Linked DNA regions of Homo sapiens: regions 2, 3, 4 and 5 are each linked to region 1. Evidence: promoter capture Hi-C in 16 types of primary human blood cells and fetal thymus (Javierre and others, 2016). All regions are on one chromosome and are shown on one strand. The core of a region is centred on a gene start or on the middle of the fragment in contact, and the rest is flanking DNA. Distances in the headings are between cores, read along the strand shown.

The links. The method cuts DNA at HindIII sites, captures the fragments that hold promoters and counts their contacts. A CHiCAGO score of 5 or more calls a contact.
Region 2: a contact is called between the fragment with the promoter of SLC9A9 here and the fragment with the promoter of CHST2 in region 1, in 2 of 17 cell types (total CD8 T cells and non-activated CD4 T cells). The highest score is 6.9, in total CD8 T cells.
Region 3: a contact is called between a fragment that was not itself captured here and the fragment with the promoter of CHST2 in region 1, in 1 of 17 cell types (fetal thymus). The highest score is 8.2, in fetal thymus.
Region 4: a fragment that was not itself captured here is called in contact with the fragment with the promoter of CHST2 in region 1 in 1 of 17 cell types (fetal thymus); the score reaches 6.0 in fetal thymus.
Region 5: a contact is called between a fragment that was not itself captured here and the fragment with the promoter of CHST2 in region 1, in 1 of 17 cell types (erythroblasts). The highest score is 5.3, in erythroblasts.

Annotation. Positions count from the first base shown.
Region 1 is chr3:143,118,324-143,121,020 of GRCh38, reverse strand. It overlaps CHST2 (carbohydrate sulfotransferase 2), which reads right to left and starts at 1,250. Exons shown (of 2, transcript NM_004267.5): 1 at 480-1,250; 2 at 1-377. The coding sequence starts at 204. RefSeq lists silencers at 1-67, 128-327, 388-467, 518-567, 598-647 and 1 more and enhancers at 1-534, 858-907, 1,193-1,692, 1,888-2,017, 1,693-2,194. The HindIII fragment of the contact is 4,891 bases long and covers 1-2,697 here.
Region 2 is chr3:143,847,077-143,849,773 of GRCh38, reverse strand. It overlaps SLC9A9 (solute carrier family 9 member A9), which reads left to right and starts at 1,306. Exons shown (of 16, transcript NM_173653.4): 1 at 1,306-1,626. The coding sequence starts at 1,452. The HindIII fragment of the contact is 4,941 bases long and covers 1-2,697 here.
Region 3 is chr3:143,762,124-143,764,820 of GRCh38, reverse strand. All of the region lies in intron 4 of SLC9A9 (solute carrier family 9 member A9), which reads left to right. Among named protein-coding and RNA genes, the nearest start is that of SLC9A9, 85 kb to the left of the region's middle. The HindIII fragment of the contact is 1,171 bases long and covers 763-1,933 here.
Region 4 is chr3:143,678,614-143,681,310 of GRCh38, reverse strand. All of the region lies in intron 5 of SLC9A9 (solute carrier family 9 member A9), which reads left to right. Among named protein-coding and RNA genes, the nearest start is that of SLC9A9, 170 kb to the left of the region's middle. The HindIII fragment of the contact is 2,203 bases long and covers 259-2,461 here.
Region 5 is chr3:143,636,956-143,639,652 of GRCh38, reverse strand. All of the region lies in intron 6 of SLC9A9 (solute carrier family 9 member A9), which reads left to right. The region is part of intron 1 of LOC102724120 (a long non-coding RNA gene); the gene reads right to left. Among named protein-coding and RNA genes, the nearest start is that of SLC9A9, 210 kb to the left of the region's middle. The HindIII fragment of the contact is 1,845 bases long and covers 422-2,266 here.

The DNA.
Region 1 (2,697 bases), core at 1-2,500:
GAGCACCAGCAGCAGTGCATAGCCCGCGCACAACACCAGCGCCTTCCTACGGAACACCTTCATTCCGAGAGGGGACGCGGGCCAGCGGCGTCCTGGGCGCCGGGGCCACTGCGGGAGCAGGGCACGCGGCGCGGCTGCAGGCGCAGCCTGGAGCAGCCGAGGGAGCGCGCCCGGGGGCAGAGCTCGCTGCGGGCTGCGGCTCATCACAGGCACAATCCGGGCCGGCGGCGCGGCGGAGGCAGCCCTGCAGCCCGGGAAGGGGACGCAGCGGGCTGGCTGCTGGCGCCGGGACTCGGGCCGCGACTCCGAGGCGGGCGCGGCGGCTGGTCCCCAGCGCCCAAGGCTGGCTCTCCCATGGCAGCGGCTCCGGGTAGGACCTGCGAGGGGAAGCGGAGTGAGCGGATGCGCCCCAATCTCCCTCCCAGCCTCCTCCTCCTAAGTAACGCCCACCCTCGGTTCTGCCCGGTTCCTCCGCTCACCTGGAGCCGAGGGCGCGCCCGGGAGCGGCCCCGGATCACCGCCCGGCGGACTGTCCGGCTGTCACTCGTTCCTCGATTTCGCTCCCTCTCGCTTCCGCTGGGGGTCCCCGCACCTTCGAGGGGTCTGGGGAGTCGGCCGACTTATCCCTGGGCAGTTTCCGGGCAGCGGGCGCCCTGCGGCTCGGGAAGAAAAACTTTCACGCGGCCCAGAGCCCCGCTCCGCGCTCCGCCGAACCCGGCGCCTCCCGGCTCCAGCGACGTCTCCTCCGCTTTCTCGGGACCGCAGCTTCCTGTCTCGCTCAGGGGAACGAAGCCGGCTGGGGGCGATGGCTGGGGGCGGCTTATATGGGACTCAGCTCCCGGCATAGCGGCGCAGCCCCTCTCGCTTTCGGCCTCCGTGCGGCGAATTTTCCCACCTCTCTGGCAGCGGTGGATGGGGCACAGCGCGACCCCGCAGCGGCGGCGGCGGCTGCTTCCATCACCGGGAGGATGCCCGGGCGGACAGCGCAGGCAACCCCCGCCGCTCCGCAGCCTCCGACTGGACCAAAGGACCCCGAACACACAGCTCTAGGCAAGGAAACCCAGGTGTGCAGCACTGCCCGACCCGACCCAACCCGCCCCCGGTACCAGCGCTTCTGGCCAACGAGGTATTTAAGCAAAGAAAGACCCCGCCGCAGCCGCCGCCGCCGCGCGAAAGCGGCGCCCAGGAGGATGCTGCTACCCGACTCCCCTTACGCCGGGCGCCCGCAACGCGCTCGGACCAGCCTCTGCGCGGCTCCTGCCAGCCGGCGCCCGGTTGGTGCGCGCCGCCGTCTGTCGCCGCGGCTCCTCCCCTCCGCCGCGCAGCCCTCCCCCTTCGCCGGCCCCGCCCCCGCCCCCAACGCCGAGCCGGCTCCCACCGTCGCTGCGCCTCGGGGGCTGGAGACGCGACCCGCTTTACCGCGACGCGCGGGGGCTGCAGTCCACGGGTCCGAAGGCTTAGCTCTGCGCGCAAAGCGCCGGGATGCGAACGCGGGATCTGGAGCTCGTCGGTGCCGAGAGCTGCCAGAGAGTTGGATTCTGCGTGCAGCTGCCGGACTCGGCCCCATGTTTTTGCTCTCAGAAAGAGTTGGTGATGAAGTTTGGGCAGAAATCCCCTGTCGGCCGTCCGCTCCACGCTTCCCTCGGGGCCGACACTGCCAACCTCTCCGGGCACTGAGGACACCTCTGCGCCCTGGAGCGGTGGGAGGACGCGGAGCGCCGTTCTCTGGCTTCCGACACCCTGCCCGCCCTCTCTAGTGGGTCTGTGGCTGCGCCCTCTCGAAGGAAGTAATAAATCTTTCTGACCTTGGGGGTCAGAGGAGACGCTTCAGTTTTCCGGAGGGGTGTGCGGGCGGGACCGTCTTTCCGCTTTACTGGACCTCTGGCCGGGGCTGCTCTTGTTTCATTGTGCCCCACATGCGGAGCCCCGATGCTCTCCGCATTTCCGCTCGCGGTGCTGCGTCCACTGTGATTGACGTCCTCTGGAATTGGGGTGATGGGGGAGGGGAACGCCCCGTTCTAATTTGCAGAAAAATACTTGTCCCGCTTCTTGGTTTTGTAGATGAGATCAAAGAACTTGACCCCAAAGGAAACACCGTTGTTGAAAGAAAATCATTTTTCAGTTGCTTTAGGTTTAAGTACTTTTGTTTAAGGTTATGAGGAAAAGCGTCTCTCTCTCCCCCCAACTCCCTCCCTCCCCAAGAACACTAAGCTGTAGCCTCAACTTCATCTGTAGAATGGGGACAGTTGTAACAGCCTCCGGAGACTGAACGGTGGTTGAGTATCAGAGCGCGCACACGAAAGGTTAGACCTGAGTTCAGGCCTCCAAGTGCCGAAAAGGGAATCTCCGTGGGGCCTGAGGCTCAGCACCCTCGGATAAACAGAGCTCTCGCTGATCCGGAGTTTTGTTGCCTCCTGTCCCAGTAGAGTTTTTAGAAGTTACTGCACAATTATCTTTGTAGCGTTTCGGGCAGACTTTTCAGAGGACCGTTCTAACATTAAAATATTGCTGTTTGCGCCATTATTCTTCCATGAGTCTTACAGAATCCCCTGAGTACAAAGACTTGAAAAGTGACTTAACTCGCTTTCCACGGGTTTTTAACTCTCTTACGGATTTAGTTTCAGGGGAGAAAAATGTTCAAAAAACTTATTTATCCTTGTTTTCCAGAAAAACCCATAATGTCACGAGTACAGTTCA
Region 2 (2,697 bases), core at 57-2,556, 730 kb before region 1:
TGAGCATTAATTGTGTCAAAATGGGGATCATAAGTGATTAATACTCCCAAATTACAATGATATGGTAAAATGAAAAAAAAAATCAGCTAACCCCAGGATATACCCAAATGTGTTATAGGATCAAGTGTTAAAAGCAAGCAGGTCATAATATTTGCTAAGAAAAAAGAAAGAAAAGGAAAAAAAAGCTGCAGAACCCATGGTATTATCTTGAACTATTTTAAAGTAGAAAAATATGAAATCAGACAGGAGCAACCTGCCACATGGAAGATGATCTGAAGAATCATCACTCTTATGATCAGAATCCTGTGAATACAGAGCTTTCATTTCTGGTGGCAGAACCATTTCTCAGTGAGCAACATTGTTTTGCCATAGGACAGAGGAGGTTGTGATCTATTGCAGATTTCTGTGGGTCCTGGATGCCGAGACCAGGAACCCTACAAAGAGAAATCCATGCATGTGGCGTTGCTGAGGATGGCTGCGTGAGTTTCTCTTTCGAAGTAATGTGTTTTGTTTTTTTTCTTTTTTGTCTCAACGTATCCAAACAGTACAGTTGTAGAGATGGGGATGGAATTTTATTTGTCTTTTGCTTTCATTGTTTTCTCTTGTTAAAAGAAAAACAATTGATTTAGAGTTTAAAGGCTGCTCTGCAACTATCAATTATATAAAGCCAAATAGAGTCATATACTAAATCCTTTCTTGCTTCTCAACTAAAAAAAAAAAAAAAAAATCCTGTGAAATCACTTTAGGTTTGCTTAACCAATGTACAGTCATGATTTGAGAGCATAAGAAACCCTATAAGAAACCCTATGCCTTAAGTGAATCCCATTGTGAGATACTTGAGCTATGAGGCGGAAGTTTCAGGCTAAGCAGTGTAATATCTTTTCAGGAGGCTAATATGCTGATCCATTTAGAGCACAGAGGCTGATTGATAACTGTGCTATCAATCCCCATCACTTTGGCAGGTCTTGGTTAGAGAGGAAAGATCTTGCATTTAGGTGAAGTTGAGTCAGGAATTGGCTTTTTGAACTTAGAAAACGTTGCTAGTGTAAGGCTACCTTTTTTATTATTAATCTACAGTTCATATTTATGCAGCTTAAGAAGACTTATTTGGAATAATAAGACCGTGATTCAAGATCTTAGCATCATTGCTTGCAGATTTGTCCAGTATGAAAGATATTTTCATGAGATGAATCACTTAAAGACATTAAGAGTCAGTGATGAAACCACACACTCTCGAGTTTGAAAAGAGACAGGGCTGCTTTAAGAGAGAAACAGGAAGTTGTAACTAGAAGCCATCTGAATACTAAGCCAGGGCAGAATGCTTGTGAAGTAGCAACTAAAGTGGCAGTGTTTCTTCTGAAATTCTCAGGCAGTCAGACTGTCTTAGGCAAATCTTGATAAAATAGCCTTTATCCAGGTTTTTATCTAAGGAATCCCAAGAAGACTGGGGAATGGAGAGACAGTCAAGGGTTATGTCAGAAAAGGATGAGTATCAGTTTCAACATCAGGGAGCGGTGGAGCTGCTTGTCTTCAATTTTTTGCTCATCCTTACCATTTTGACAATCTGGTTATTTAAAAATCATCGATTCCGCTTCTTGCATGAAACTGGAGGAGCAATGGTGTATGGTGAGTGCATAAATTGTGAGATTGATGTGAAACTTGTTGCTTGAGCGTAATTAGAGACTTGTGCTCAGATAGCAAAGTACCGAAACTGGAGAAAATGTGCTGATTGAAATGTCATTAGTTTGATGAAAGGTGCTGCAGCGTAACGAATGCTAATCTCTTTACAGACAAGCCGCCGAAATTTGCCATGTCACGAGAGCAAATGTCACAGTCATGTTCTCACACGGCACATAATGCAAGTCTGTTGACAGATGCGGGTCCATTGTCATGTGGGGAGTCGAGGGCGAGCTGTTTGTTTTTGTAATGATGTTGGGAAGTGATGGCTCTGCAGTCACAAAGAGCAGCCTTCTCTCACTGGCTGCACCGATGAACATTACGAAGTTCTAGAAAAAACATCACTTCAAAATGCCTGGAGTAATTCCTCTTATATCAACTAATTTCAAGAAGAAAACTTGCAGAAACTAACCCCACCCCTCTTAAGAGAATATTGTGTCCAAGTCCTTTTTATTTATACGAACAGTGTCTTATTTTCTTATAATAAAAAGTTATAAATAAACGAGAGTTTCTTTATGCAGTACTTTTTACTTCTTAGCCTGATTTCAGATGTTCTAATTTATAATGATCATTGCTAGTGTTATTTGTTATGTATCTCCTATTTATGTATTGGAGGCCAAGGTGTGGAAAAATATTTAACACCTGCAGTATTGCTCTTTCTGGGCAACTTACCGTATCATTCCTTTCAGAAAGTTTAATAAAGTCTGACAGAGATTATCTGTCTGTACTCTCATCTTTTAAAGTAAAATGAAAGACACCAGTTTTTACTGGTGTTACTGATGAAATAGTTTACTTCACTGCTCTTATCTCAGCCTGATAATGGATAGGAAGTTTGAACACAATGGCAACAGGCAAGGCATTGCTATAATTTATAGCAAATAACATACTTTTATATTTGGGGTTTCCTCATTTTGGAAATCCTGAAACCCTTTCCTAAGCCTGAGATTCAGGGTACAGATCAATGCACATTGTATATGCTAATCCTGTGGTGTCCTGATATTAACAGTGTATAGTTGTGAT
Region 3 (2,697 bases), core at 99-2,598, 640 kb before region 1:
AGGATCTCTTGAGGCCAGGAGTTAGAAACCAGTCTGGTCTACATAGTGAGACCCGATCTTTACAAAAGATAGATAGATAAATAAATAAATAAATAAAATAGTTGGGTATGGTAGTGCATGATGTAGTCCCAGTTATTTGGAAGGCTGAATAGGAGAATCACTTGAGTTCAAAGCTACAATGAGCCATTATCACACCACTGCACTGTAGCCTGGGCAACAGAGCAAGACCCTGCCTCAAAACCAACAAACAAACCCAGACATAATGAAGAAAAGATACAAAATTCAGGGAAGGAATTCTTAGCCTTTCTAGATCACTGGGGTGGCCACATGAGGTGGTGACTGTGCATCTAATAGTTTTCCAAAAGTTACTCTGAGGGCAGCAGTTGGCACTGCTTGTGGGAATATAAGTTGAATTGCATATATTACATTCCAAGGACGGAAAGAATTAGAAGTGTTCTATCTGGAAAGTGATACGCTATCATTGAAATTTCTCCAGTCTGCTGCACAGAAATAGGGTATGTTCACCCTGAGAAGCAGATGGGTGGGGGCATGACATAGACAGCATGACTTATTATGACTCTTTGACATAACTGAGAGAGCTCACATTGTATGTTATATACCTCAACAACTTTCTCCATCAGACTCTTGATGAGAATTAACAACTAGAAGAAAAATGGCTTTTCCTGAGGTTTTTCCTTTCCCTTTCCTTACCCTGTCAGAGTGGATTTTTTAAAAAAGAAGTGAAATTCTATAATATAAGCTTGGGAAAGAGAAGAAGGAAGAACCCAGTTATCCCTGTAAACAAAATGACATGTGATGGTCTTTCATGGTTTGGAGACCTTAGTAGAGACTGACCTATTAATGGTAACCCAGGAAATATGGATTCTCCTAGTTAAAAAGAAGCAACACACACTTATCATATTAGACTCTCAATAAATGCATGTGTGTAGAAAAAAAATTATTTGTCTTATTTAATGGCCCTATCCCCAACTTTCCAGGACTAAGAGATTTTACAACAGAGTTCTCACCTTAAAGATTCCACTAGATGGAGATCCTGAGCCATATTCCATGGTTTATGACAAAAAGAAATGTGAAAAAAAAAAAAATCAAACATTTTATTTTGCTTTTTGCTTCATTTTTCTAGCTTTTTTTGAAAGACTGCAGAGTAGAATTACTTACTGGTTGGTATATTAAAGAAAATCTGGCATGTACAAACAAGTTCTTCAAAGGTTTTTAGTAACACCTATCACAGGAGGCTGAATTGATACCAGAAACCAGGAGTGTACAAATCCATGATGGTATTTTATTATCAAAGAGAACTGGAAGGGGCTTGTGCTTTTCTTTAAAATCACAGTGACAAAATAACACATCAATTATTTGAACTGATTTGTTTATAATGACATTTACCTTAACTCAGATGATTGGATTCTGTCAACTCAAAATTCCTTTGTTCCTAGTCTAGTAAATAAGATAAAGTCAAGATGAAAAAAGTAGAGGGATGTAAATTTCTAAGGCTGTGAACTAAATGGCTCTTGCTATAATTACTGACAGATATTTGAATGCCATTGTGGGTTGACTCTCATGCATGTCACCTGGGTTCTGAAGGAAGAGGGTCATGAACTCCTTTGGTCATAAGAACATATGCATTTCCAGTGCTGCACACTGGGTAAGAGAGCCACTAGAAGCTGCCACCAAAAGCCTAAGCAGTGGGGCTAGCTGGCTCTTCTACAGACATATAAGGACTCTCCAGGATGTCATGAAGACCTTATGGCCAATAGTTCCATCGCCTCCTCTTTTTCACAAATGGAGTCCAAAGGCCCCACCTGAGTGAATGGCAGAGCCTGGACCAGAAGTTCCCCTCCCAATGCCTGGCATTCCGCTGATTGCTTCCCACTGTTTGTCTGAGTTGATCTGAGTTCTTCCATGAAAAGCTTAACTTCTAAGGTTATGAAACCTGTAAAAGTCAGCCACACAGCCTTCTCAAAGGGGTAGGATGTAAAGGGATTTACATCAGGGAGACCAGCAGAATCAGAGGACAGTGCCACACTGGCCATATATTGTGGGACTCTTGTTCTTCAGGCCTCAGTATATTCGTCTGAAAATTGAGGAGGGTGGAGAAGACAATCTCCTTGTGCTGTGTTCATACACAGGTGTATCAATTGCTCTGGCAAGCTCAGATAAACTTGAGAAAATAATTCTAGGTAGTTTTATTGCCTCTGTCTCCCTCAAAATAACATAGTTCACTTGGGGAAATTGCTTTGGTGATCACCACACTACTAAAACAACCCATTACAAAGATTTATTTGGGAATATAGAAGTTAATCTTCCATCAGGGGCTATTTTAATTATTTGTTAAGGATTCCAGTTGAATTCTATTGTAATGAAATTGGTAGGCCATCAAAATAACCCAAATACCATTCTACAAAGAAAAGATGTATTTAGATATTAGGTATGATGGTGGTGGTTATTATTATTATTATTTTATACTTTAAGTTCTAGGGTACATGTGCACAACGTGCAGGTTTGTTACATATGTATACATGTGCCATGTTGGTGTGCTGCACCCATTAACTCGTCATTTACATTAGGTATATCTCCTAATGCTATCCCTTCCCCCTCCCCCAACCCCACGACAGGCCCCAGTGGGTGATGTTCCCCTTCCTGTGTCCAAGTGTTCTCATTGTTCAATTCCCACCT
Region 4 (2,697 bases), core at 111-2,610, 560 kb before region 1:
AAGTAAAAAAAAACTGTTTAAATATAATTCAAAGTATTTACCAAAATCTAATACCAAATATTATTCTAAATGAAAACTTGAAACTGGATAATTCAAGAAGGTTTTATTTATAGAGGACTTGTTGCAAAGTTTATTTGTAGAAGAACTACAAAGAATAGTGCAGGCATCTGGAGCTTGGGAGTAGCCAAACAGTTATCACTCTTAGGTTCAAAGCAACAAGAGGAGAGAGTGGTCATTAGAATTCAGTGGGAGAAAGCTTGTGGAATATGTCACCTGGTGGAGAGCGATAACCTGTTCAGGGACACTTTTAGTTCAAGGTAGCATTTCAGGGGGAAAATGTCAGGGAATAAATACCTAAGTCTTCCTTTCTGCCCCTCCTCTGATATCTTCTGGGGCTTCTCATTGGCCAAATCCAATGAGAAGCTAGAGGGCATGGGAACTTATTGATGTAGTTCACGTGGTCAGTGTCCCAAAGCAGAGAATGTGTAAAGGGAAAAATAGAAGATACTGGCATAGAAGTTCTAGCAAATTCGGTAAGAAAATGAAAGAAAATAAAACATCACATAAAAGTAGAAATTAGGAAATAAAGCTGCCATTTTTGTTGATGTTACTCTATTCTAAAAAACTATTAGAATTAAAAACGAAATTTTGTGAGGTGCCCGAGTATAAGATAAATATACAAAATCCAATAGCATTTAAAAAATTTAGCAGCAAGTTTCTAGAAATAAAATTCAATATCTATAAAACTTACAACTATTTGATACTAATTTTAATAAAGAATAAAGGTATAATATTTTAAGGGATATAAAATGTAAAACAAGATATGAACAAATGAAAAGTCATGCTCTAGAATGGGAAGATTTAATTATGGACATACTTTATCTTTTTCTTCCTCCTAGATTTTTTTCATGGAGTACTTTTTAAACAATGAAAAACTTTAGCAAACTATATAATCCCTGTTACTTTTCATAAACCTTCCAGCAGTTTCTAAATTTTTCATTCTATTTGAATACATCATTCAAAAATGTTTTTAATGTCAGTTTATGTGTGACATTCTTTCCAAAGCCTTGTATGCCTGAAAAATTTTAATTATACCCTCATATTCAATAGCAATTTGTTTAGACATAAAAGTATAGATTCAAAGTTATTTTCTTTTTTATTCTCTCAAATATTTATTTCTCTTCATTTTTATTTTAATCTAGTGGTACTCGTATTATCTATATGTTGCACCTCTATTTTTATCTCTCATGTCTCCTAACATTTTAAAATTGTACTTTTATCTCTTCAATCTGTCTTGCTTCCTGCTGGAGGAGTTCCTCAATCAGGTTTCCCATTATCTAAATTATTTCTTCAGTTGTATCCATTATCCTATTTATTCCATCTGTTATAATTTTTTTCTGCTATGTTTTTCATACCTGATATTTCCTTTTATTTAATTTTCTTCTGTCTCTTTAAGTGTATTTAGTATACTTATTGAAAATGTTTTATGTATCTATTCTAATACTTCCGTTTTTTGTTTGTTGATTTTCTCTAAGTTGTCATAACCCTCAGGTGTCTAGCTATTTTTCACTTTTGCTCATGTTCCTTTAGGAGTATCAACTATTGAATTGGCAATACGTATTGGAGAAGGGCCTCAAAACTACAGTTATCATTTTCATTTGCCGTCATCCCACTAACCCAGGGTAGTGATGTTAAGCCTCAGAACACATTAACTGTGGAGACATTTTTTGCTAGTTACAGCTGGGGGAATGCACTACTGGCATTGGACGGGTAGAGGGCAGGGATGCTGCTAAACTTTGAAAACGCACTAGACGGCCCCCAACTGCAGGTAATTGTCTGGTCTAAAATATCAATAGTGCCAAGGTTGAGAAACCCTGCCTAGCCAACTTCTCAGGTTGGGGTTTAGGCCCTAAGGGAGAAGCAACATTGATAATCCATCAGCCTAGGATTTGTAGGGAAAGAGAATGCCTAAGGCTGCTCAGTCTCTACCTGTTCTTATCAACTCCTTACCTCACAAAACCTTTTGCACTGATCCTGACATTTCCCCCATGAACACCTGCCCCAGTGTTTAGCCAGTTGTGCATGCTTTGTGTGGCAAGGAGCTAAGCAATGATTACTCCATGGAAATGCAAGTAAGCCAAATGGCAGAGCTTAAACAGTTTTTGTTTGTTTGTTTGTTTGTTTTCCTAATTTGCTTTTTTTTACTGCTGTGTGTAGCCGCCCATTGCCAGATTTGCTGCACTCTTCCCACCCCCCTCACCTCTTTCCCACCCCTCTCACCTCTTTCCCACACACATCAATCCAAAACAGTGCTCCTTCTCCCTGGGGATTTCTCATGGCTTTTGTTGTTATTAGTTTCAATTCCACTTTTCTCTATATACTTTCTTCATCATTGACTTTGTGGAGGAAAGCAGTAGCCGATGCTATTATAGTTCACCATCTTGGTGATGAGAAGAAAGCTTTCATGAAAATTCTACTTTCCTCCAATTCATACAAAAATTTAAGGTAATTTCAATGAAAACTTACCACTTTAAACATTGAAACTGGATAAAATTATCTTAAAGCTTATAAAGTGGAATAAAACCATGAGGTAACCTACCTAATCAGATGTAAGAATATACTACAATGCCATTATAATCAAATCAGTGTGGTATTGGCCTAGGAAGCACAAGACCAGTAAAAAATAATAGATGATCC
Region 5 (2,697 bases), core at 95-2,594, 520 kb before region 1:
CAACATTCAGGATAATTAAAAACTGCTCACTTTTAGTAAGATGATAAAATTTGGCCCTCTCAGTACTACACAAAGCTGGGAAGAAGACTAGCAGTGTTTGATTCTGTGATTCTTTTATGACTACCCAATCCTTTTTCTAATTGATACAGTATACTTTTGTCATGATGCATCAGTGTCATTTGTCTCTAATGTCCTTTAATATCTGGTCAGGGGTTGATAGTGATTCCCTCTCATTCCCTCTGTTGTAACCAGAGGCATGAATGCCCATGCTAGTGCCTACTAACAGATAGTAGTTGATAGCTAGGCATCAGGCTGTCTATGAGAAGAACCAATCTTGACTTCTGCCTCATGCAAGGAAAGATTTCCAAAGGTTGCCACACTCGCTTCTAATAACATAATCTAAAATACTGCATACTAAGCTTTTGGGTCAGAAGTCAAGAGTTAAAGGAAGCTATGGCTCTCACTTCAGGGGGTGGAGGGTAGGTGCAGCTAAACAAAAAGACAAAACTCTATAAATAGTTTTGGGGCTCTGAATTAAGAATTTTTCATCCAAAGACATATTTTCTTTCTAATACACTTAAACCTGACTTCTCATTCTGAACAACCAAGAAAATGTCTTTTATTTCAGGTGACCAAGTCTGGATTTTTTCTAAGAAAAAACTTTCCAGAGAACAAGGGGCCAAATCAATATGCAATAATAATTTTGGTCTAAATTAAAAGCTCTCTCTTGGCCTGGAGAATATAATCTGCTCATATTACTTGAGCTTTGTAATGAATTTACAAGACAGGCTTATTGCCAGTTTTATGTGGGCTCTGCCTTACTGGGGCATGGGATGCTTAGGGAATCTGATTAAAACCTTGGGAAAGAGCAGCTGTTCAGCAATAGAGGGTGAATTCAGGGCCCATTTTTCTGTGCCTGACTGCAGGGCCTGACACCCTTGCCAGCTATTGGAAGATAAATGAACTGTCTTTGAATGCCTAGCTCCCTTGTTAATAGCTTTAAAATATTGGTTGTTTATGGGAAAGAAGTCAGGAGCTCTTATCAATTTTCCTGCCCCAGGGGTCCTCAAATATATCACTTTTCCCGTTGCCAGAATGGCAGGCAGTATTGAAGGAAAAAGGAGGAAATTCTTTCACCATTTAGAAGTTCTTCATGGATTCACAGCAAGAGTTTCTCATTTCAAAAGTTAGAGTGAATGCCCACTAAATTATTAGATGAAATAACTCACATAGAATTTAGACTCCCCTCTTCCTGGCATTATCCTGCAATATCAGAATCATGATGTAGTTTCATCTGTTTTTTCTAAAGGCAATTAATTCAAATTGGATATATGAAAGTCAAATTCTAAAGTCTGTGCCAAATGGCTTATTTTCAGAATGGCAGTTAAATGGTCAAATTTGATCTAATGACATTAAGGTGAGCATGCTATATTTTGGGCCATTAAATTAAATTCTTACCCTAATGTGTTTTGAGGTTTATCCTTTTTCATTTTTACCCCCCATTCCCATTCTCACCCGCCTACTTTGCTTTTTATGGAACTCAGAAAAACTTCTTGGCAGAGTTAATTCTTACTTATGTAACAGTTGACTATTTAAATTTTCAGATATTGTTTATTGTTCTTATAGCTGTTCACTTTTAGCCTTTTCATTAGCATAACTTATAAGAAAAAGTTAGGAAAAGTAGAAAAATATATGCATGTATGCAGTTGGCTTTCTTTTCATTAGTAATTCTAATACAAGTTTTCATGGAAAAACTTTAATCTTAGAACATAACCTCAGATGTGGAAAGTATGTGTTTTACTTCTCCATGGAGAAGTAAAGGTTGGGTTGGCAGTCTGGATTCTGACTTTATTATTTACTAGTTTTATACCAATGAGCAAGTCAGTCAACCTCTTTAAGTTGGTTTTCTCATTTCATCAAGATGGCAACTTTAGTATACATATCTATTCTCACCTTTAAAAAATAAAAACCTGTTGAGATTTTAGATGTCAGTTACGCTAAAGCTATAGATTATAAAAGCAAATAAGATCAACTTTAAGGGGAAACAACATTATAGAAAACTAAAGCCCAAAGCATATATACTTACTAAGGTGTATATAAATGGCTATTATATCTACAAAACAGGGATAAGCTGAAATTTGAAATATAAATCATAGAAATTCAAAATAGGAAAATCCATATTTATCAAAGCCTTTGTTCAGTTTTTACATTCTTTTTGCTTTATTTTTGTCTGAATGGGTTAATTTAAAAGATATGTAGTCAAGCTTTGAAATTTTTCTGCTTTGTCTAATCTATTGTTAAAGCTTTCAACTGTATTTTGTAATTCCATCTGTAAATTTTTCATTTCCAGAGTTTTGTGCTTTCTTTAAATATCTATCTCTGTAGTAAATTTTTCATTCATATCTTGAATTGTTTTTCAGATTTCTTTGTATTGGTTTTCAACTTCCCCTTGGATCTCGTTGAACTCCCTTATGATCCATATTTTGAATTCTTTATCTGTCATTTTAGAATTTTCATTTTGGATAAGATCCATCACTAGAGAGCTAGTGTGATCCTTGAGGGGTGTTACAACACTGTTTTTTCATGGTGACAGAATTGGTTGGTTCCTTCTCATCTGGAGAAACTGTCACTTCTTATTTTTGAATTTACATTCATTTTAATGGGACTTTATTTTTCCCCTTGAAAGTGTGACTGTTG